7 separate regions of the Homo sapiens genome follow, and regions 2, 3, 4, 5, 6 and 7 are each linked to region 1. Evidence: promoter capture Hi-C in 16 types of primary human blood cells and fetal thymus (Javierre and others, 2016). All regions are on one chromosome and are shown on one strand. Each heading gives the region's core, a stretch centred on a gene start or on the middle of the fragment in contact. The rest is flanking DNA. Distances are from core to core; before and after follow the strand shown. Region 1 holds the start of H2BC12 (H2B clustered histone 12). Region 2 holds the start of HCG11 (HLA complex group 11). Region 3 holds the start of H3C12 (H3 clustered histone 12). Region 4 has its middle 7.7 kb from the start of TRY-GTA3-1. Region 5 holds the start of BTN2A1 (butyrophilin subfamily 2 member A1). Region 6 holds the start of OR2B2 (olfactory receptor family 2 subfamily B member 2). Region 7 holds the start of HMGN4 (high mobility group nucleosomal binding domain 4).

Evidence for each region. Contacts are between HindIII fragments. The CHiCAGO score rates a contact against its expected background, and 5 or more counts as called.
Region 2: the fragment with the promoter of HCG11 here is called in contact with the fragment with the promoter of H2BC12 in region 1 in 11 of 17 cell types (M0 macrophages, activated CD4 T cells, naive CD4 T cells and 8 more); the score reaches 11.8 in M0 macrophages.
Region 3: a fragment that was not itself captured here is called in contact with the fragment with the promoter of H2BC12 in region 1 in 16 of 17 cell types (total CD8 T cells, naive CD4 T cells, non-activated CD4 T cells and 13 more); the score reaches 25.4 in total CD8 T cells.
Region 4: a fragment that was not itself captured here is called in contact with the fragment with the promoter of H2BC12 in region 1 in 3 of 17 cell types (M0 macrophages, M2 macrophages and M1 macrophages); the score reaches 7.8 in M0 macrophages.
Region 5: the fragment with the promoter of BTN2A1 here is called in contact with the fragment with the promoter of H2BC12 in region 1 in 11 of 17 cell types (M0 macrophages, naive CD4 T cells, activated CD4 T cells and 8 more); the score reaches 14.8 in M0 macrophages.
Region 6: a contact is called between the fragment with the promoter of OR2B2 here and the fragment with the promoter of H2BC12 in region 1, in 14 of 17 cell types (neutrophils, monocytes, naive CD8 T cells and 11 more). The highest score is 16.3, in neutrophils.
Region 7: the fragment with the promoter of HMGN4 here is called in contact with the fragment with the promoter of H2BC12 in region 1 in 15 of 17 cell types (M1 macrophages, M2 macrophages, naive CD8 T cells and 12 more); the score reaches 14.3 in M1 macrophages.

What each region holds. Positions count from the first base shown.
Region 1 is chr6:27,145,043-27,148,183 of GRCh38, reverse strand. H2BC12 (H2B clustered histone 12) reads left to right here and starts at 1,329. Exons shown (of 1, transcript NM_001312653.2): 1 at 1,329-1,823. The coding sequence starts at 1,386. The coding sequence ends at 1,766. H2AC12 (H2A clustered histone 12) reads right to left here and starts at 1,078. Exons shown (of 1, transcript NM_080596.3): 1 at 622-1,078. The coding sequence starts at 1,055. The coding sequence ends at 669. MIR3143 (microRNA 3143) reads right to left here and starts at 558; the gene lies at 496-558. RefSeq lists enhancers at 692-941, 1,272-1,731, 986-1,902, 2,322-2,431. The HindIII fragment of the contact is 2,078 bases long and covers 439-2,516 here.
Region 2 is chr6:26,520,444-26,523,237 of GRCh38, reverse strand. It overlaps HCG11 (HLA complex group 11), which reads right to left and starts at 1,532. Exons shown (of 1, transcript NR_026790.1): 1 at 1-1,532. It overlaps TRL-CAG1-7 (tRNA-Leu (anticodon CAG) 1-7), which reads right to left and starts at 2,030; the gene lies at 1,948-2,030. It overlaps LOC107986583 (a long non-coding RNA gene), which reads left to right. Exons shown (of 4, transcript XR_001744057.3): 1 at 1-1,729. RefSeq lists silencers at 1,077-1,596, 1,827-2,426. The HindIII fragment of the contact is 10,867 bases long and covers 377-2,794 here.
Region 3 is chr6:27,888,708-27,891,584 of GRCh38, reverse strand. H3C12 (H3 clustered histone 12) reads left to right here and starts at 759. Exons shown (of 1, transcript NM_003535.3): 1 at 759-1,270. The coding sequence starts at 793. The coding sequence ends at 1,203. RefSeq lists enhancers at 787-1,006, 523-1,167, 1,227-1,526, 1,168-1,812, 1,813-2,457. The HindIII fragment of the contact is 398 bases long and covers 1,244-1,641 here.
Region 4 is chr6:26,583,334-26,586,181 of GRCh38, reverse strand. No RefSeq gene overlaps it. Among named protein-coding and RNA genes, the nearest start is that of TRY-GTA3-1, 7.7 kb to the right of the region's middle. The HindIII fragment of the contact is 1,543 bases long and covers 571-2,113 here.
Region 5 is chr6:26,456,626-26,459,377 of GRCh38, reverse strand. It overlaps BTN2A1 (butyrophilin subfamily 2 member A1), which reads right to left and starts at 1,423. Exons shown (of 8, transcript NM_007049.5): 1 at 1,236-1,423; 2 at 660-771. The coding sequence starts at 741. RefSeq lists enhancers at 1,233-1,392, 1,553-1,812. The HindIII fragment of the contact is 11,033 bases long and covers 1-2,752 here.
Region 6 is chr6:27,911,061-27,913,904 of GRCh38, reverse strand. It overlaps OR2B2 (olfactory receptor family 2 subfamily B member 2), which reads left to right and starts at 1,509. Exons shown (of 1, transcript NM_033057.2): 1 at 1,509-2,720. The coding sequence starts at 1,586. The coding sequence ends at 2,659. The HindIII fragment of the contact is 2,345 bases long and covers 205-2,549 here.
Region 7 is chr6:26,537,085-26,539,895 of GRCh38, reverse strand. It overlaps HMGN4 (high mobility group nucleosomal binding domain 4), which reads right to left and starts at 1,530. Exons shown (of 2, transcript NM_006353.3): 1 at 1,395-1,530. It overlaps TRR-ACG1-2 (tRNA-Arg (anticodon ACG) 1-2), which reads right to left and starts at 2,398; the gene lies at 2,326-2,398. It overlaps TRV-CAC1-6 (tRNA-Val (anticodon CAC) 1-6), which reads right to left and starts at 1,842; the gene lies at 1,770-1,842. RefSeq lists enhancers at 910-1,319, 2,580-2,811 and silencers at 1,810-1,859, 2,253-2,546. The HindIII fragment of the contact is 7,010 bases long and covers 1-2,811 here.

The sequences.
Region 1 (3,141 bases), core at 80-2,579:
ATATCCCATTTTTATGGCTGTTTGACAACACTATTAATGTAATAGAATTATTACACTGGAGGCCGGGCGCTGTGGCTCACGCCTGTAATCCCAGCACTTTGGGAGGCCGAGGCGGGCGGATCACCTGAGGTCAGGAGTTCGAGACCAGCCTGGCCACCATGGTGGAACCCCGTCTCCACTAAAAATACAAAAAAACTAGCCGGTCGTGGTGGTGTGTGCCTGTAATCCCAGCTATTCGGGAGGCCGAGACAGGAGAATCGCTTGAACCTGGGAGGTGGAGGTTGCAGTGAGCCGAGATCGCGCCGCGCCACTGCACTCCAGCCTGTTGGAGACTCCATCTCAAAAAAAAAAAAAAAAAAAAAAAAACCACTGGAATTAGTAAATAGATTTCAGGGATTTGTACGTTTGATTTCACTTATTACCCCTGCTGAATAAGCTTCTCCGGAGTATCCTACAACAACTTTTGGGTCTTCATTGCTTTCCAGTGGGTTAATTTAGAAACATTGTAAAGAGTTGCTCCAGCCCAACCGCGAAAGAAGCGCTTTACAATGTTATCTAGCGAAGCAAACATGAAGTGAAACAAACATGACTGTGTCCAGCTTTCTCTAAGACAGTGTAGAATGGCTCTGAAAAGAGCCTTTGTTTTCCAGTTTTCACAACCTCGCTCCTTATTTGGCCTTATGGTGGCTCTCAGTCTTCTTAGGCAGCAGCACGGCCTGGATATTGGGCAAGACACCACCCTGCGCGATGGTGACTTTGCCCAGCAGCTTGTTGAGCTCCTCGTCGTTGCGGATGGCCAGTTGGAGGTGACGCGGGATGATACGGGTCTTCTTGTTGTCGCGGGCCGCATTGCCAGCCAGCTCCAGGATCTCAGCGGTCAGGTACTCCAGCACCGCAGCCAGGTACACTGGCGCGCCGGCTCCAACCCGCTCGGCATAATTACCCTTGCGGAGCAGGCGGTGCACTCGGCCCACGGGGAACTGAAGCCCAGCCCGAGAAGAGCGGGTCTTGGCCTTGGCGCGAGCTTTACCGCCTTGCTTGCCACGTCCAGACATACTGGTCACAACTTACTGAAAGTAGCCAACGAGGAAAGGCAGCGCCTTTTATAAACACTATTGGGCGCGAAAAAGAAGATATGTCATTGGTTAGGGTTGTAGCTTAGTTTTAACCAATGGAAGTACGTCTTTTGGATTTGCAGATTGGGTTGATTGGGTATAACTAACCTCTGACGTCACCCTAATAACCACCAATCAGATACAGGACTTTCACTCTTCACCTTATTTGCATGAGAGGTCCTATATAAAAACGACTCCTGGTACCTTGCTCCCATTACTTCCCGTTTTCTCGATCTGCTGCTCGTCTCAGGCTCGTAGTTCGCCTTCAACATGCCGGAACCAGCGAAGTCCGCTCCCGCGCCCAAGAAGGGCTCGAAGAAAGCCGTGACTAAGGCGCAGAAGAAGGACGGCAAGAAGCGCAAGCGCAGCCGCAAGGAGAGCTACTCCGTATACGTGTACAAGGTGCTGAAGCAGGTCCACCCCGACACCGGCATCTCCTCTAAGGCCATGGGAATCATGAACTCCTTCGTCAACGACATCTTCGAACGCATCGCGGGTGAGGCTTCCCGCCTGGCGCATTACAACAAGCGCTCGACCATCACCTCCAGGGAGATCCAGACGGCCGTGCGCCTGCTGCTGCCCGGGGAGTTGGCCAAGCACGCCGTGTCCGAGGGCACCAAGGCCGTCACCAAGTACACCAGCGCTAAGTAAACTTGCCAAGTAAGCGTCTTAAAGCCCAACCCCAAAGGCTCTTTTAAGAGCCACTTAAATTATCGATATTAGAGCTGTAAACACGTGTTCCTAATCCAGGCTTAAATTCGGGCGATCTTTTTAAAGGGATTATCATGATCTTATCACACTGAGTAATGCATGCAGTGCTTGTAATCGAGTCTGGCTAAGGAGAAGCCACATACACTTTGTTAGTACTGAGTGAGGAATATGGCGCCTAAAAAATTAGGGATGTGCAGGAAACTTGTGTTAACAGAAAGTGCTTCCTGGCTCTTGGCGCGAAAATGGATACTTCCGTTGTGTCGAGTGCTGTGACTTCCTGTTAGAACTTGTTGAAAGCCTATTGTGTCACGTGTACTTTCCACCATGTAATGGCGTTCTAACGTGAGTTTATATATTAGTAAATTTGGTTCCCGATGGCGTTCCAGTACGTATGGCTTTCGCTCGAGCAGTTACCTTATTTAACCTCTTCTAGGCTGTACCCAGCTCTGCCTTGCTTTGCTTCCCCCTCACCCCCTGATTCCATCTCTGCAGCCCACGGGACATCGGGAAGATGCCAGACCACCAGGCAGGATAGTCTGCAAGGGTAAGGGGAGGAGCACAGCTTTTCTCAGGAGTGAAGAAACGGAACATGAAATCATCACGGAGATTTTTGGAATAGTTTACTAGTTTTTAAGGCATGTTCAGCGTCAATTGGTCCAATCAGTAATTTTTCCTTTTGACAAGAAAGCTTATAGAAAAGGAAAATGAAAAGCAAGTAGATTCAGAGGGGAGACAACAGACAGACTAGAGACAGTCCGCCCCGAAGCAAGAAGTTGGAGTAGAGGAGAAGGGAACTTCCCCAGCAGCACAGGGTTTGAGCTAAGTGTTAGGTGGTGGGTTAGAATTAGGTGGTGGGTTTTATTGTGTGATTAGAGGCTAGAATGACTATGCCGGTGATGAGCAGTGTGAAACTTTTTTGGAAGAACCAAGTGAAAGAAAGAGTCCACGAATTTTAAGCTAGGTTGTTACCTGGCTAAATTTGTGATTTAGAAATGTAGGCCAGTTTCACAGGGGAATTTTGTGTGTGTGTGTGTGTGTGTGTGTGTGTGTGTGTGTGTGTGTATTTAACATATTTGGCCACGCATTGTTCTAGTCTTTGGGGATATTGCCCGCCCTTAGGCATTTGGAGATTAGCAGGGTCATATTGAAAAACTTCATACATGCAAAGCATATGTTCACTGTTGATCCAAGTCTTATTTATCCTACCAGTAATTTTGGGGTTACATTAATATTCTAAGAAATGTATCAACAAATAATTATATTTATTGTTTACCTATATAGGAGGCACTGATCTATATCTATACCTATATAGGAG
Region 2 (2,794 bases), core at 283-2,782, 630 kb after region 1:
TCTAGTTTTGTTATACACTGGCAACCTCTTTAACATCCAGAAAGACTAGATGTTGTAAATTAGGACTCGTTTGTCCTTTATGTACATTATATACATAGATAAAACAAAATGCACAGACATAGTGATTCATCTTGCCTCGCTGTAAGCAGGATGGCATAGAGCTCTCTGCACCTCCCCCTCCTCTCTCCTCCCCTGAACTACTGCACAAACACAATGAGTATTACTCAACAGGTGATTTGGCCATTCCCCCCAAAAAACAACATTTCTATGAATTGTAACAAAAAGATATTTACAAAATGTGGTTTTACTACCTCTAATTTTAACATATATCAGACACTTCAGAATATCTAAAAAGAATAGACATTTCAAAAAAGCTTAGCATTGTCAACTACATACATAGTAGTGAGGAAGCGAATGCACACAAAACAATGGATAGAATATGAAAATGTCTTCTAAATATGACCAGTCTAGCATAGAACCTTCTTTTTTTCCTTCTCAGGTCTTCGAGCTCCATGTCATCTAACCCACTGAACAAACGTGAACGTATCGCTTCTAGAGGCCGTCTAACAACTCAGTTTCCAAAAGTCAACTCCGGAAGACATGTATTTTCTATGATTTCTTTTAAACAAATGAGAATTTACAAGATGTGTGACTTTCTAACTCTATCATACGTCGGCAACCTCTTTCCATCTAGAAGGGCTAGATGTGACAAATGTTTTCTATTAAAAGGTTGGGGTGGAGTTGAGAGCAGCTTTTTCATATTATATACACAGGCCTTCCGTAAACGGCCTGTGAATCTTCCCAGAGGATGGAGGGCATTTCCAACGGGCCAAACGTGGCCTGTCATTCTACCATTTGTCTCTTCCGACAGCAAGGTCTGGTAGTACGGAGACCAACCGCCCGATCGCCGCTAACCGTTCCACCCGTCGTCGTTCGGGACTTCGCTCACCTCCCAGGCCCGTTAAGGCCTTTGTCCGTTGTCGTTAGGACTAGGTAGGTCTCGCCCAATGGCGACAGAGTGGTCACCCGGGACCCAGATCTGGCGGCTCCGTGGCCTGAAGAGGCGGCCGAGCCTGCCTGCGTCCCTAGGCCGCCTTCCCGGGCCCTCCATGCCCTAACGCCCTCCGCCGCGCGGCGTTCGAGCGGCCGCCATGCTTCCCGGCACGCTACTCCCGCCGCCACCCAAAGGCGCTGCGTCCAGGCTGCTCGGCGGGGGTTTCGTCCAGGCCCGGCAGGCTTGGGCCGGGAGACCCGACGGCCGGCAGGGTCCGGACTGGGAGAGGCCGCCGCCGCCATCAGTCACCGAGGTAGGGTAGGGAAGAGACGTTCGCCACCGCTTCAAGGCCTGGGCCCAGCCAGTGGGCAGCCACAGCAGAGGCCTCCGGTATCTGCAGGGCAGAGGGCGCGGCCTGTCCCGGGGCGCCCCCTAGCTCACCCGCCGACCCGGGGCCGGAGGGCCTGGAGCGCCCTGGAGGAGCGGCCCGCGCTCTGCGTCTCTCCGCGCTCTCTGCCAGACCGGAACTCTTGCAGTGATTTCTTACGGGGAGTAAGGATGAGGTGGGGAATGAGACTGAAGAAATGGAATTAAAAAGATAACTATAACTAAATAAAGAGGAGCCCTGCAGTAATGTAATGAGCCATGAACTGAAGAGTAACATTTATTCAACTCTGCCTGTGAAGGAGGGAGAGGGAAAGACAACTAGAGACAGAGGAGAAACGGAAAAAGGAGGTGAGATTTCAAAACACCGGTAGGTTCTGAAATTATTTTCGGAGTACAGAGTACTTTTTGCTGTCCTTGGAGTGGCTAATAAAAACAAAGAGTGCTTTTATTCCGGAACTCGGAAAATTTATTTTTTAAAAAGAGAGAAGACCATGTCACAAAGAGCAGGTAGGAAAACGTAGCGTAAACTTAAACTCGATTTGTGTCTAAATACTAAAAGTACGAACTGTCAGGAGTGGGATTCGAACCCACGCCTCCAGGGGAGACTGCGACCTGAACGCAGCGCCTTAGACCGCTCGGCCATCCTGACGCGCTTATGCTACATTGTGCTCAGGACTCACTTCTGTCTCTTGTCTAAACGCTATTAGTTCCCCATCCACCAGCCGCCCCCCTACCCCATGTCCCCACCCCCGCCCACCCCCTTGTTGTTCTTTTTCTCAAGATATGGGCATTCCTGGGTTAAAAGGTAAGCCGCCTCTCCGCGAACTGCCTCGGACGGCGCTGCATAGGACCGGTTGTCCGGGCCACAGAGCGGCGTCTCCCGAGTGAACGCCGAGTCACTCCCAGGCTGCGCGGGGAGGGCTGCGGCGGGTGGGGCGGCGGGCGAGGGAGGGCGGGTCGGGGTAGGGGGAGCGGGACGGGGGCGGGGGCGTGGGAGGGGCGGGGCGGGCGTGGGAGGGGCGGGGAGGGGGCGGGGCGGGCGTGAGCCAGCCCAGGGCCGAGTGACTAAGGCGGAAGACGGCGATGGCGCTCTGCTCTCAACTGAATTCTAGTTAAAATAATGGCAATCCTGTTGAACTCAACATTACTAGAATACCTGGCTTAAATTTACACTTAATTCCCAGGAAGTTTTAGGCTTGCTCCAGTTTTTGCTGGAACAAGGTGCTCGCTAATCCTTCTCCTTTGCGTTGTGCTGCAAATCTCCCAGCACGTGGTTACCCTTGGCAGGGCCGGTGGAGGGGACAGGAGCGTGGGAAGCCTGGCTTGTCTTGCCTCTCTGTCGGAGTTTATGGAGGATTTGCGCACTTTTCGGTGTGGATGTTATACTGTAATAAAAACTTTAAAAAGCAAAAG
Region 3 (2,877 bases), core at 193-2,692, 740 kb before region 1:
GCACCTATCAAACTCCTTCCCCACACCACACTGGACAAAACTAAAGTTTTGGTGTTTTAGAGAATGTGCCAGCCTAAGTTTAAATTGTTTTTGTTCTGGGTCTTGGTACAGTCATTAAAAGATTTAATTAAGCAGTTACAAAACGGAACTACTTTTTGGAAATACTAGCAAATACGTTGTTCTACTGTATGTATTTTTACACGATCCGAAATAGGAAAAATGACCCATTGGAAATGAGTTTAAGACTACGACTGACCTACACAAATTCTAGGTCAGATTATCTTTTCATTGGGGGAATCTTAACATGATTGGTTGAAAACAATAAATAAAAGTGGCGCGGAGGACGAGCGCAGTGGCTCACGCCTGTAATCTAAGCACTTTGGAAGTCCGAGGCAGGCGGATAACTTGAGATCAGGAGTTTGAGACCAGCCTGGCCAACATGGTGAAACCCCTTCTCTGCTAAAAAAAAATTAGCCGGGCGTCGTGGCAAGTGCCTGTAGTCCCAGCTACTCCGGAGGCTGAGGCAGAATCGCTTGAACCCGGGAGGCGGAGGTTGCAGTGAGCTGAGATCGCGCCACCACACTCCAGCCTAGGCGACAGAATTAGAAGCCGTCAGGTAAAAAAAAAAAAAAAAAAAAAAAAGTGGCAGGAACCAAATGAAGATAGTATTAACAACCAACCAGGTTTTTCCTACAACAGTTCTGACCAATCAGGATCAGATCATCGTTATAAATTCTGGTAGAAGCCACTGCTCATTCAGCTGCTTGCTTTCAGAGCATAGCTTTCTCAACTATGGCCCGGACGAAGCAGACAGCTCGCAAGTCTACCGGCGGCAAGGCACCGCGGAAGCAGCTGGCCACCAAGGCAGCGCGCAAAAGCGCTCCAGCGACTGGCGGTGTGAAGAAGCCCCACCGCTACAGGCCAGGCACCGTGGCCTTGCGTGAGATCCGCCGTTATCAGAAGTCGACTGAGCTGCTCATCCGCAAACTGCCATTTCAGCGCCTGGTGCGAGAAATCGCGCAGGATTTCAAAACCGACCTTCGTTTCCAGAGCTCGGCGGTGATGGCGCTGCAAGAGGCGTGCGAGGCCTATCTGGTGGGTCTCTTTGAAGACACCAACCTCTGTGCTATTCACGCCAAGCGTGTCACTATTATGCCTAAGGACATCCAGCTTGCGCGTCGTATCCGTGGCGAGCGAGCATAATCCCCTGCTCTATCTTGGGTTTCTTAATTGCTTCCAAGCTTCCAAAGGCTCTTTTCAGAGCCACTTACATTCTCACTGAGGATAGCTGTCACACCATTGGTCGACTGTCTTAAATCAACTTTAAAGCAGGGATAAACTGGCGGAAAGTCGTCAAGGGTTGTTCATTCTGATTCCTTGCAGTGTCCTTTGTCTTCTAAGACGGTCCTTTTCACTTGTCCTCTGTGACCCATCTCACAAGGGTCTCACTTTCTCCGAGGAAAGTCAGCAAATCTATATCCAAGGTCAATCCGCTTCAAGGGGAAAGCCAAAGTCCTTCCTGCACATGCTGTCCTTTGGGGATAGCATCTCCAGAACCCCATAACTAACAATTAGATTACAGGTTAAATGAGATGCCATTTTTAACTGAAACGGGCACTGCCCTTGGGTCCCCTGGAAGCTTGCTGAAAATCACGGACATGAGGCCGGTTGATTTAGCACATAGACACGGGAGACTTCAAAATGAGGACCCACCCACCAATGAGATACAGAAGTTTATATATCACCTTGAGATTATAGAAAGAGTGCAAGCTTGGAACCTGGGAAAACAGATTATAGGAGGGAGAAAGGAAGAGACTTGGCTAGCAAGGGGGGCGGGTCTTGTTATGTAGATGAAAACACATAGCTAGTAGTCCTCAGAAAAAATAGATGGTAAATGTCTCTTGTCAGGGTGGGCGTGGTGGCTCATGCCCTCCACTTTGGGAGGCAGTGGAAGGAGGATTCCCTGAGCCCAGGAGTTTGAGATCAGCCTGGGTAACAGCAAAATCCTGTCTCTACGAAAAACAAATAAAAAGAAAGGTGGGTGTTGCAGCGCACAACTGTAGTTCTAGCTGCTCAGAAGGCTGAGGCAGGAAGATTGCCTGAGCCCACGAGTTCAAGGATGCAGTGAACTATGATTGCACAATTGCACTCCAGCCTGGGTGACAGAGCAAGACAGTCTCTTAAAAAATAAAAATAAAAAAGGATCAGACTCTCAGTTAATCTCTCCTAGATCCAGGAAAGGACTAGAAAGGGAAAGCCTGGCAACAAATGGAAATTTCCCCCACAAAAGACTGATTTGCAGGGCCTCATCGGTCTCCGGGCCCTGAGGCAGCCATTTCAAAATAGGGCAAAGAAATATCTTTTGGGGTAAAATATTTTTATTTCCTTCACTTTACTTTCCTCAAGAGACTGCTTTAAAGGTTAAATGCAGTAATATATTCTAGGGCCTTGGACAGTGCCCCAGAAAACACATTAGGTACACAAAAAATATTTATTGAACCTGATTTTATCTCTGAATCTTAGTTTGGAGTGGCTCTTGTGGGAGACTAAAATATGCCACCCCGAAGTATACTTTGTCATATTTCAAGATGGCTATTCAGAGAAACTGCAGAAATAGGAATAGCTCTGAAAAGCTCTTTTTTGTAAAAGAATTGTATACCTATCAAGGAAATCTACATTAGTAAACAGTGGATGCAAGTACTGGCTTTCTCTGAGGCTCCCTTTCCTGCCTAAAGAGGAATCTAAGACTGACTCAAAGGAGAGAAAACTACTTTGTCACAGGCTGTCAGCTATTCTGCGATTACCTGAGAGACTTTATCTACATAACAAGAAAACCTTTGCCTTTCCTCCCCTGGTGCCTTTGCCCTTCCTCCTTCA
Region 4 (2,848 bases), core at 93-2,592, 560 kb after region 1:
GCAGATTGTAGTTCTTACTTCCTCAGAAATAGATGTGGACATATGACACATTTGTTCTGGAAAATGAGGTGTCCCTTCCAGATGTTTGAGAGTCAGTGAGCAATCTATCGGGTCCCTTTTTACCTTACCTTGACAAAATAATTGATTATTTTGATTGTAGAGGATCTACAAATCAGGGTTTATTAGTGAAATAGAGACCACCAACCAAATCATGATAGATTTTTATGACACAGAAATAGGAGTTTATGGTTATAAGCCAGTATGATTTGGCGTGGGGGAGAGGAATTACTTATTATTGCAGCATAAGCTAATGTATCCAGATGGATACATCCAGGAAATTCAGAAGTATGAATTCATTAAGAAGACCAGATTCCTTTCTAGGTAAATATCCAACAAAATTGTGTGAACTTGAGCACTAAGAGGTATGCTAAAAGTGTTCATAGAAAACAGGTTTTTAAATATACATATATATTTTAATATATTAATATCAACATATCCCAAGAAAAAGCTTAGTGAAGTATTGCCAGTGGTCTACGTACAGCCTAATATCACTTTATATTATGATAAGCTTAGGAAAATGTCTAAAGTTTCTTTGGTTCTTTGTGGTAGAATTCTAGAACATTTAAATGTATTGAGCTAAAAGTAGTAAAAATCTCAAAATTAGAATGAACACAGATCTAAGATTGGGATTTTAAAATACTATGGCAGTTTTTCAAGCCTGGAAAGTTCAGTCATTAGGATTACAGCAAAAATAATTATTAGACACAAGAGGCATTTCACCTGCTCTGTCTCTTGGCCCCATATGCAGCCATAGTGACTGTCCTTTTTCTCCTTTTCTCCCTTGCCACAGCACCCACAATTCAGATTGCTTTCCTTTTTCCCTCATAACTTCTACCAACCATTTGCTTCTTTGGGGACAGATCTTCCCTAAGACAAATAGAAAATTGTAGCATGAATCATAAAATCTTAGCCTCTTAAATCCTTGCTGCACCTGAAAATTACCATGCGAGATCATTTCTTAATGTTGAGTTTTATGCCTAATTATTATTAGTAAATAGACTGAGCATCACATTCAATGGAAAGTTACATGACTATCTTATATATGCATGCTGTATCTGGTCTAAAGTTTCTATTTTCATGGCTAAAATAGCTACAAGGAACCTGATCATTGTCTTATCTTCTACTTTTATTCCCAATGGCAGGTAGGGCTTCCTAATACTCCTAACTCCTTCTAATCCAGCAGTAGTTCTTCAACATCAGTGTTCCTTTTGTACAACACTGGTTTCAGTTCTAGGAACATCTCAGGCTCTCTAAGATATCTGAGCCTTTTTTAAACTGTTTATTCTCCCAGGAATGACCTGGAAAATGTATTGACCACTGACCAACTTTTATTTTATTATTATTATTACTATTATTATTACTTTGTGTGTGTACGTGAGATGGAGTTTCGCTCTTTTGCCCAGGCTGGAGTGAAGTGGTGTGATCTTGGCTCACTGCAACCTCCACCTCGCGGGTTCAAGTGATTCTCCTGCCTCAGCCTCCCTAGTAGCTGGGATTACAGGCATGTGCTACCACGCCCGACTAATTTTTGTATTTTTAGTAGAGACGGGGTTTCAGCATGTTGGCTAGGCTAGTCTTGAACTCCTGACCTCAAGTGATCCACCTGCCTCAGAAACTGCTAAGATTACAGGCATGAGCCACGGCACCTGGCCACTGACCAACTTTGAAGACCAAGGATCAAGGATCAACTCCACATTGAAGATGTTGGAGCCTCACCATATTACCTCTGGCATCCCACCAAGAAGCCCCCCCCATATCCCCCTGACCTTCACCATGTCAATGTCCACCAGGCTGATTTCTACCTGCCGGTACTTGCATCTTATCGCATGAGAGCTTTCCCCACCTGCTGATCACACTTTGCCCACATTCATGGCAGGCCAGATGTTCCACTGAATTGGAGGTTTAGAATAGCTCCCAAGCAATTTTTGGTAAATGGTGTATGACTATCCCAGCTCCCTTACCCTTGAAGTTTGATCATTTTTAGGCATATTTTCAACATTGTTTCCCAGAGTTCCTCCTCTGAGGATTAAGAGGGGTTAAGAAGGATTAAGCTTGAATAGCCCAGAGTGGTATTCCTTGGTTTCTTTTCTTTTCTTTTTCACTTTGTTTTTTCCACACCAGTGTTTTCTGGATTAAACCACTTGCCCCTAAATCCTTGAATAAACCACCCCACCCCACCCCACCCCAGAAAAAAAACAGTAGGTTTTTGAAAGGTCATCCAATATGCTGTGGAAGAATAGGTAAGTAGTCAGGGGCAGAAGCAGGAAGGCAAGATTGATTCAGGCGAAAATTACGATGTCTCCAAAAGGAGTTGTGGCAGTAAGAGTGGTGAGATGCTGTAAGATCATGGATATGTAGTGAAGATAGAAGCAACAGAATCACCCAATAAATTGATGCGGAATGCGACACAAAGAAGAATCAGGCTGACTCCCAGGTATCTGACCAGAGAACTGTGAAGGATGGAATGGAGTGAGGGTGACTGTGGGTGCGACAGATTTGGGAGGGAATGAGATAAGGAGTCCAGTTTTGATGATTATTAGCTTCTAAGTGGAGATGATGAGTAGGTAGGAATACTGCAGTAGGATCAGTCTGCAGTTTGCGGGAGAGTCTGGGCTGGAGATATAATAATGTGAATTATCTGCACAGAAACAGGTTTAAGTTCATGACTCTGGATGAGACTCTGAAAGAATTGGGTGTAAATAGATAACAGAAGAGGACTAAGAACTAAAGCCTGGGGAGAAAAACAATATTAAGGAGTCAGGGAGAAGAGGAAGAACCAGTAAAGAAG
Region 5 (2,752 bases), core at 174-2,673, 690 kb after region 1:
CATAGGGTCTCTTTGGGCTGAGAAATCTGGGGACCAGTAGCTGTGGCTAGTCGACAGCACCCCTGGGAGCAGTAACTATAAAGTGTGCTTCTGCTTCATGAAGGAAACCCTGAGGAACCTGCCCTGAGCACCCTCTGTCCACCCTGTGCCCTTGAGGGGATTTTCCTCGATTTCCCAATCTAGTGCTGTGCCTGAGTGTACTGTAAACTTGAGCCGTGCAATAGGACACATATCCACTAGCTAGTTCCAACTGAAATGAGCTGTAAGTGTAAAATACACACAGGATTATGAAGATTTAAAATTTCAAAATGTTGACTATCTCATTGGTAATATGGTATATTAACTAAGTATTTAAATATTCGTATTTGATTATTTGGGGCGAAACAAAATATAGTATACAAATTTATTTCATGTTTCTTTTTACTTTTTAAAATAAAAAGTAAAATTTAATTTTTTTTGAAAATTTGCAATTGTACATGCACTCGGCCTTTGTGCCTCACTGTATTCCTTTTGGACAGTGCTGGTATAAATTCAATGAACATGTTCAGAATGAAAGGGTAAGTCAACAACTCCACAGTCCTTCTTTCTTTCCCTTTGCAGACTACAGGGTTGATGTTCCTTTCTGATAGGTGACAGCAGCAAGTGGCACACATCCCTACCTGAGACCAGTGCACACAGGCTGAGGAGGAGGAGGAGGAGGGAGGCTGGCCGGGAGAAGTGCAGGGCAGCAGCTGATTCCATGAGCACCCAGAGCAGGCAGGGACAGGAGGCCTAGGGTTACAGAGGAGAATCAGCCTAGGAGTCTTGGCACCTCAGTGCTGGTCGGGCCCAACCTCTCCCGTCACTCAAGTAGGTCTCATCAGTGCCCCAACTTCAGGGAGTCCCCTGCATCCGAAGGCTCAGGTATGTCCCGAGAGAGGGATTCCTTAAACATTCCATGAAGTAAGCCATCAATGCCAAGATCAAGGGGGCCTTTTTCCGCCCTCCTCGGCTCACTTCTCTGGCCAGAATGCAGTTTCTTCAGTTGTCGCTGGATTCTACCACACCCTCCTCCCTTCACTTCCTCCTCCCCGCGACCCAGGCCGGGCAGCCTGAGGCAAAGACAGGCGAGGCCGCGCCTCCCCACCGGTGGGCTTTCCCTGTCCCAGGACCCCGTCTCGTGTCCACAGCAGACCCCGCTTCCCCCACCTACTGTGCCCACCCCGGAGCTGTAGCGCCTCCCCTCCGTTTCCTACCTTCTAGAATTAAACGTTGCTTTTTCTTTTCTCCGCTGGTTCTCGACGATTCTCCAGTCGTCCCTCTTCTCTCCAATCTGCCCAGGGGCACAGGCACTACTAGACACAAACCTTCCCAAAAGAGGAGAAAAAATTGTTCTTCCCCTTCTCCTAGGTCGCCATGTTTGGAGATGCAGGAAACGAAATCTGGTCTCCTGGGCTTCCACAGTCCCAAGAGTTCCCTAAGTATTTTAGAGCCCAGGATTGGCCGGGTGTGAGTGAACCAGCCAATGGTGTCGAACCTTATTTCTCAGCAGTTGCTGGGTAGAATACACCGAATCACAAATTTCAAGCAGCAAATAACCTTTTGAGATTATCGGGTCTTTTTATTTCCTTTTTCTTTGTTCGAAAGCAAGACTCTCTCTCTCTCTCTTTCTCTCTCAAGACTCTCTCTCTCTCTCTCGCTTTGAGATTCCTTGGGGAGATTCCCTGGGGTTTGTCACTGAGGTCGGTGGCTTTGCTGGTGTCCACAAGGAGAGGCCTCTCTATGTAGAGGGCAATTTTGCTGGGGAGGAAACATGAGCAGGAAAACGTAAGCCGCCCCCTTTCCAAAGCCAGAGGACTCCTGTTCAAGTTGCTGGCTTTGGAGGTTGGGCCTGGAGCGCAGGAGGGCTTGGGGGAAGCTGGCATGGCTGGAGCGGGAGGGGTAGCAAAGGAAAGGAGACAGCAGTTGCAGTGGCTGTTATGAAGGCCTTGCCATTCATTCCAAAGCTATCGGATAAGAGGTGCTGAGAATCCTGACTGAGGATCAAAAACCTTTTCCCTCAGGGAGGTGGCATTCTGGTGGTGGCAGAAGATGGAATTGAGCAAAACTTTCTAGTTGTCCTTCACCTTCTAGATAGTAGGTGGTCAGGTTGGGTCCAAGAGCCACACACAGACACACACACTAGCACACATACCATCCTCCCGTAAACATCATCCCTCTCCCAAAGGCTCCAATCTTGTAATTGTAAAGATATCTTCCAGAATAATCTTCCCGAGGCCCAGTTGTCAATATTCCCCTCAAGTGTCTAAATGCTTAGTCTGGAGGCCTCCAATTCCCTTCTGATTCAATTCAAAACTTTGCAGTTAATACGCTAGCAATGGCTCCACAGTGGCCTTGCATCACAACGTTGCACTCCCTGTGGCCAGTGCTCCTTTTCCCATGCCATGGCTTTCATTTCAATTGCTTGCTCCATCTCTGCCCCGTGAAATCCTGCCCAGCCTTCGTGCCTACTTCCTCCAAGAACAACTCTGAATGTTCCTGCCTGAAGTGTTCTCGGCCTCTTCTGACACCCAAATCTTTTGCTGTTCCCACGTCCTGTCTTGTATTATTGTTACTCAGGTATCCACTGTGTCTCTGCTGTGACAGGAGTACCTGCTTCTCAGGACAGACTTCTGCAGGATGTGATTCCTCTCACCTTACAGGGCCCAGCTCTAAGCTCTAAGCTCTGCTCTTAGCTGTTGTTCAATGCATGAGTGACATGCTCAGGGTAAGG
Region 6 (2,844 bases), core at 260-2,759, 770 kb before region 1:
GAAGAAGAAGAATTGTCTTGGGTCTCACATAAAATACAGCAACACTAACAATAGCTGATGAGTTTTTTTTTAATCATCAGTGAATGTCATGATGTTTTAAGAAAGTTTACAAATTTGTGTTAGGCCACGTTCAAAGCCATCCTGGGCTGCGTTCAAAGCCATCCTGGGCTGCATGCAGCCCGTGGGCCTCAGGTTGGACAAGCTTGATTTAAAGCATCCACCTGCCTGTTAGTCACTGAGTAGCCATCTCGGTTATCAGATCGTCAGAACACAGAGGGGTGAGTACACTAGAATAAGGTGTTTTGAAGAGAAAAAAAGAGAGGGACACCACATTCACATAACATGTATTACAATAAATGGGGGTCTGGAGCTGTTATACTTGCTGCATTTTATTAATTATTGTTCTTAATCTCTTACTGTGCCTAATTTATAAATTAAACGTTATAGTTGTGTATGTATTAAAAAACATAGTATATATAGGGTTTGGTACTACCCACAGTTTCAGGTTTCTATCCACTGGTGGTCTTGGAATGTATCCCCCATGGATAAAGGGGGAACCACTGTATCATCTTCATTTTACAAATGAGAATTGTGGAGATCAAAGGGTTAGAAGCATTCCAATATAATGAATGTAACTAATTAGAGAGGGTAGGGATATGAGACCAGCCTGTCACCTTCAAATATCATATTACTAAGGAATCTATACAAATTCTATGAGCTTCTAGAACGAAAAGGATATGTCTCCTTAAATTGTGTCTGATAACTTACTAGATACTGTCTACATGGCTTTTTTGAGGGAAGGGGAATAATGGGAGGTGGCTTTAACTAATGTTAACTGATTTCTACAATCAGGGAATCTCGCTGGCCTTGAAGAGAAATTAGAATGAATTCAAATGACAGGAAACTGTATCTACATCTACCTCACAGTAGATATCTAGGTAGGAAGAATGAGAAAAATACATTTACAAACAGTAAAATATCAAAGGATACATTATGTGAATTTGGAAACTGAAAATATGGCTTAAGATTTTTGAAATTAGGCTGGGCACAGTGGCTCACGCCTGTAATCCCAGCACTTTGGGAGGCTGAGGTGGGCAGATCACCTGAGGTTGGGGTTTGAGACCAACCTGACCAACGTGGAGAAACCCCATCGCTACTAAAAATACAAAATTAGTCGGGGTGGTGGCACATGCCTGTGATCCCACCTACTGGGGAGGCTGAGGCAGGAGAATTGCTTGAACCTGGGAGGCGGAGGTTGCGGTGAGCCGAGATGGCGCCATTGCACTCCAGCCTGGGCAAAAGAGTGAAACTCTGCCTCAAAAAAAAAAAAAAAAAAAAAAAAAAAGATTCTTGAAATTCGATTCAATTTGCTAATATGCTGTTACAGATATATAAACACTTTTTAAATACTTGGATGGATAAATATTTATATTTTTATCAATACTTTTTTCACATTATTAATTGGATCAGTCTGTAATTTTATGTAAATTGATAGCAAAATGATTATAGCTGACAAAATCAGGAAGTGTGTTGTTAACTTCCTGACTTCTTATATTTCAGAGAACGAAGAGTTGAACCATTTAACATGAATTGGGTAAATAAGAGTGTCCCACAGGAGTTCATTCTGTTAGTTTTCTCAGATCAACCATGGCTAGAGATTCCACCCTTTGTGATGTTTCTGTTTTCCTATATCTTGACAATCTTTGGCAATCTGACAATAATTCTTGTGTCACATGTGGATTTCAAACTCCACACCCCTATGTACTTTTTTCTTAGCAATCTCTCACTCCTGGACCTTTGCTATACCACAAGTACAGTTCCACAAATGCTGGTAAACATATGCAACACCAGGAAAGTAATCAGTTATGGTGGCTGTGTGGCCCAGCTTTTCATTTTCCTGGCCTTGGGTTCCACAGAATGTCTTCTCCTGGCCGTCATGTGCTTTGATAGGTTTGTAGCTATTTGTCGGCCTCTCCATTACTCAATTATCATGCACCAGAGGCTCTGCTTCCAGTTGGCAGCTGCATCCTGGATTAGTGGCTTTAGCAATTCAGTATTACAGTCCACCTGGACACTTAAGATGCCACTGTGTGGTCACAAAGAAGTGGATCACTTCTTCTGTGAAGTCCCTGCTCTGCTCAAGTTGTCCTGTGTTGACACAACAGCAAATGAGGCTGAACTATTCTTCATCAGTGTGCTATTCCTTCTAATACCCGTGACACTCATCCTTATATCGTATGCTTTTATTGTCCAAGCAGTGTTGAGAATCCAGTCTGCTGAAGGTCAACGAAAGGCATTTGGGACATGTGGCTCCCATCTAATTGTGGTGTCACTTTTTTATGGTACAGCTATCTCCATGTACCTGCAACCACCTTCACCCAGCTCCAAAGACCGGGGAAAGATGGTTTCTCTCTTCTGTGGAATCATTGCACCCATGCTGAATCCCCTTATATATACACTTAGGAACAAAGAGGTAAAGGAAGCCTTTAAAAGGTTGGTTGCAAAGAGTCTTCTTAATCAAGAAATAAGAAATATGCAAATGATAAGCTTTGCTAAAGACACAGTGCTTACTTACCTTACTAACTTCTCCGCAAGTTGTCCTATTTTTGTCATTACTATAGAAAACTATTGTAATCTCCCTCAAAGAAAATTTCCTTGACAAAAAGCTATATTTGTTTCTGTTGCCTAAACATTTTCATTGAACAAGCCCCCAGAATTGGCCTTCCAATGCACCAAAAACTGTAATCACAACATTTTCAAGGGTTGTCACACTTTACATCAATGTTTGTACAATTCAGTGTAAACTAGACCTTTCTGATCCAGAAATCATCTCTTCAGTAATAC
Region 7 (2,811 bases), core at 281-2,780, 610 kb after region 1:
TAGTACAGAGGGGATTTTAAATGAAAATGTATTAGACAGGTTGCTGTTGAGCACATGCCCAAGTTTATTGTCTTGCTAACCAAGATATTATCTTGCTAGCCAAGGTGTTGTCTTGTTAAGGGAACCAGCAAGATGACAAAAGAATGGACCTTTCAAGTCAACGTCTACCCAAGCAGCCTGTTTAAGAAAATGATAAAAAGAAAACAGCTCATTAACATTGTCCTTTTCTTTCTTTTCTTTTCTTTTTTTTTTTTTTTTTTTAATTTTGCGGACCCACCAAAGAATGCAGCCCTTCTTTTCTCATGGTCATAAAAATATCACATTCGGTTGGGCGCGGTGGCTCATGCCTGTAATCTCAGCACTTTGGGAGGCCGAGGCGGGCGGATCACTTGAGGTCAGGAGTTTGAGACCAGCCTGGCCAATATGGTGAAACTCCGTCTCCAACTAAAAATACAAAAATTATCCGGGTGTAGTGTTACACACCTGTAGTCCCAGCTGCTCGGGAGCCTGAGGCACAAGAATCGAGGTGGAGGTTGCAGTGAGCGAGATCGCACCATTGCACCCCAGCCTGGACAACAGAGTGAGACTCCGTCTCAAAAACAAACAAACAAAAACAAACACATCACATTCTTATTAGTCATTTGAGGGAACCTGGAGCAATATGATCTGAGAGGCTAGGCTTGGCTAATCCCTAGAAAAAGTAGTAATACATCTAAGAAAGAAATCCCTCTTAGGGAACACCCGAGGCTGCCAGGTGACACAACAAAACTTTCTCATAAAAGCGTTTGATTAATCCGATTAACTTGTAAGCAAGCCATGTGGCAGAGGTAAGAGGCCAAACACCAAGGCACCAGTCCTGATTCTAAACAAGTGCTGGTCCATTTCTTAACTTTGGGATCCATTTTTTCTTTGTGATGGAATAGCAAAAGGTCAAAGTGGAGGAGGACTCAGCCCTTGGGTGTCTCCTCAACGAGGGTTTCTCGAAGGTAAATTGGGGAGGAAGGGAGAGCCCACGGCAGGTCAGTCCAACCTGCCAGTCACCACCTCTTTAAGGCCACAGCCCTGCGGGAGCAATCCTTTCAAATCCCCTTCCTTCCTTCTTTTAGAACGCCCCTAGAACGCCGATTAGGACTTCTCATCCCGGTCGGGCCTGCGGCTCTCTGTGACCCCACCTCTGGATTCAGCTTTTCCCAGGGATTCACACTCGGAGCTCAGGAGAGATGCTGCGATTACTCTGGAGACGGGAAGACAGGCGGGGCTGACGGGGCCCAAGGCCCCTAATCATGACCGGGGCCAGCTGGCAGGAGGGTCCTAAGTATACGGAGGGCGGCGGGACCCCCCCCACCACGCCCCTCATTTTCCGGGGTAGCGCACAAAGTCTGTGAGGCACTTACCCGAGTCTCGTGGCCGTCCGAGGGGCGCGGGAATCCCAGCTGAGGCCCGTGACGCGCCGGAGCCCTAGGCGTGGGCAGGGCCAGCACCAGCCCTAAGACAGAGAAGACGAGCGGAGCCCGGCTCCGCCAGGAACAGGAAGGCGAGGGAAGGTGAGGATGCGCTTCCGGGGCTGCAGGCGGGGAGCCGCCCCGAGTCCAAGCCGGAGAGAGCTGGTTCTCCCCCTGGCGATACGTGTGTGAGCCTCTGAGGCCCGCCCTAAGCACTGCTGCCCCGATCTAGCAAGACAAGAAGACAGGAAATTTATGACAGCCTGAAAAAGTCTTTAAAAGATACACACTGGAAGAATTTCGTAGTAAGATGAGGAAAAAAAAACGTGTTTCCGCCCGGTTTCGAACCGGGGACCTTTCGCGTGTGAGGCGAACGTGATAACCACTACACTACGGAAACCCACTAAGGGCTTATTTTTCAGAGTAAATAGTTCTTCCTGCCTAGTTCCGTGTTTCTTCGTTCCAAGTGCGTGTTTTGCTGATGTGCGCGTGCGTCTCTGTACCGACCTCTCAAACCAGAAAAACCAATGAAAAGCTCAGACCCAGCCCCTCCAGTGTTCAAACTGAAGCCATAGAATTTATTCTACAAATGACTGAATAGGGAAGAACACAATAGAGACTTTAATTTAATCTCTGAACGGTCCTTCGTTCTTCGGCCAAAATGGCCAGGCAAGGCTGGGCACAACTTGGGTAGGGCGAGCGTTTCTCTGGCGTAGTTGGCGTTACCACGTGGTCAGTGGCAGAATGCTCCGCAAAGAAATGATAACCCCATATGTTGTCGGGAGCTGCCCCTCTTGCTTCTGAGTCTTCCAGGCAAATTTATCTTGCAGGAATTTCCTTACTCCTGCGGAGTCAGAAAGTTGTAAAACGACCCTGCTTACACCGAGCCAGCCAGGAGTCGAACCTGGAATCTTCTGATCCGTAGTCAGACGCGTTATCCATTGCGCCACTGGCCCTGCGCGTACCTTAGGGGCGAGGTATTTCATAAGAAACTAGGTTGTACCCGTAATATCTGGGTGAACGCCTGTAAGCCGCGTTTGCCCGCTGGTCCAGGCTCGCAGCGCATGGACTCTCTGGTAGCTACTTCTGCACACGCCCCGTGGCCTTCATTCCTTTCTCGGTCTGTCTCTGCCGGCTGAAAAATGGCGGTGAAAAGCAAGCCCTGCATCCTCTCTGCCCCAATATCACCGCTCCATTAATGCGTTCGTTCATTCAACCAGTATTAGTGTTCAAGGCACTGCAGATAACGGTGAAGAAAACATGAGAGACCCTTGCCCTCAAGATTACATGGCAGTGGCGGAAGCGGATAATAAAGCATTAAATAAACAAAATAATAGTGATAAGCGATTGGAGAAAAATAATAATAAAA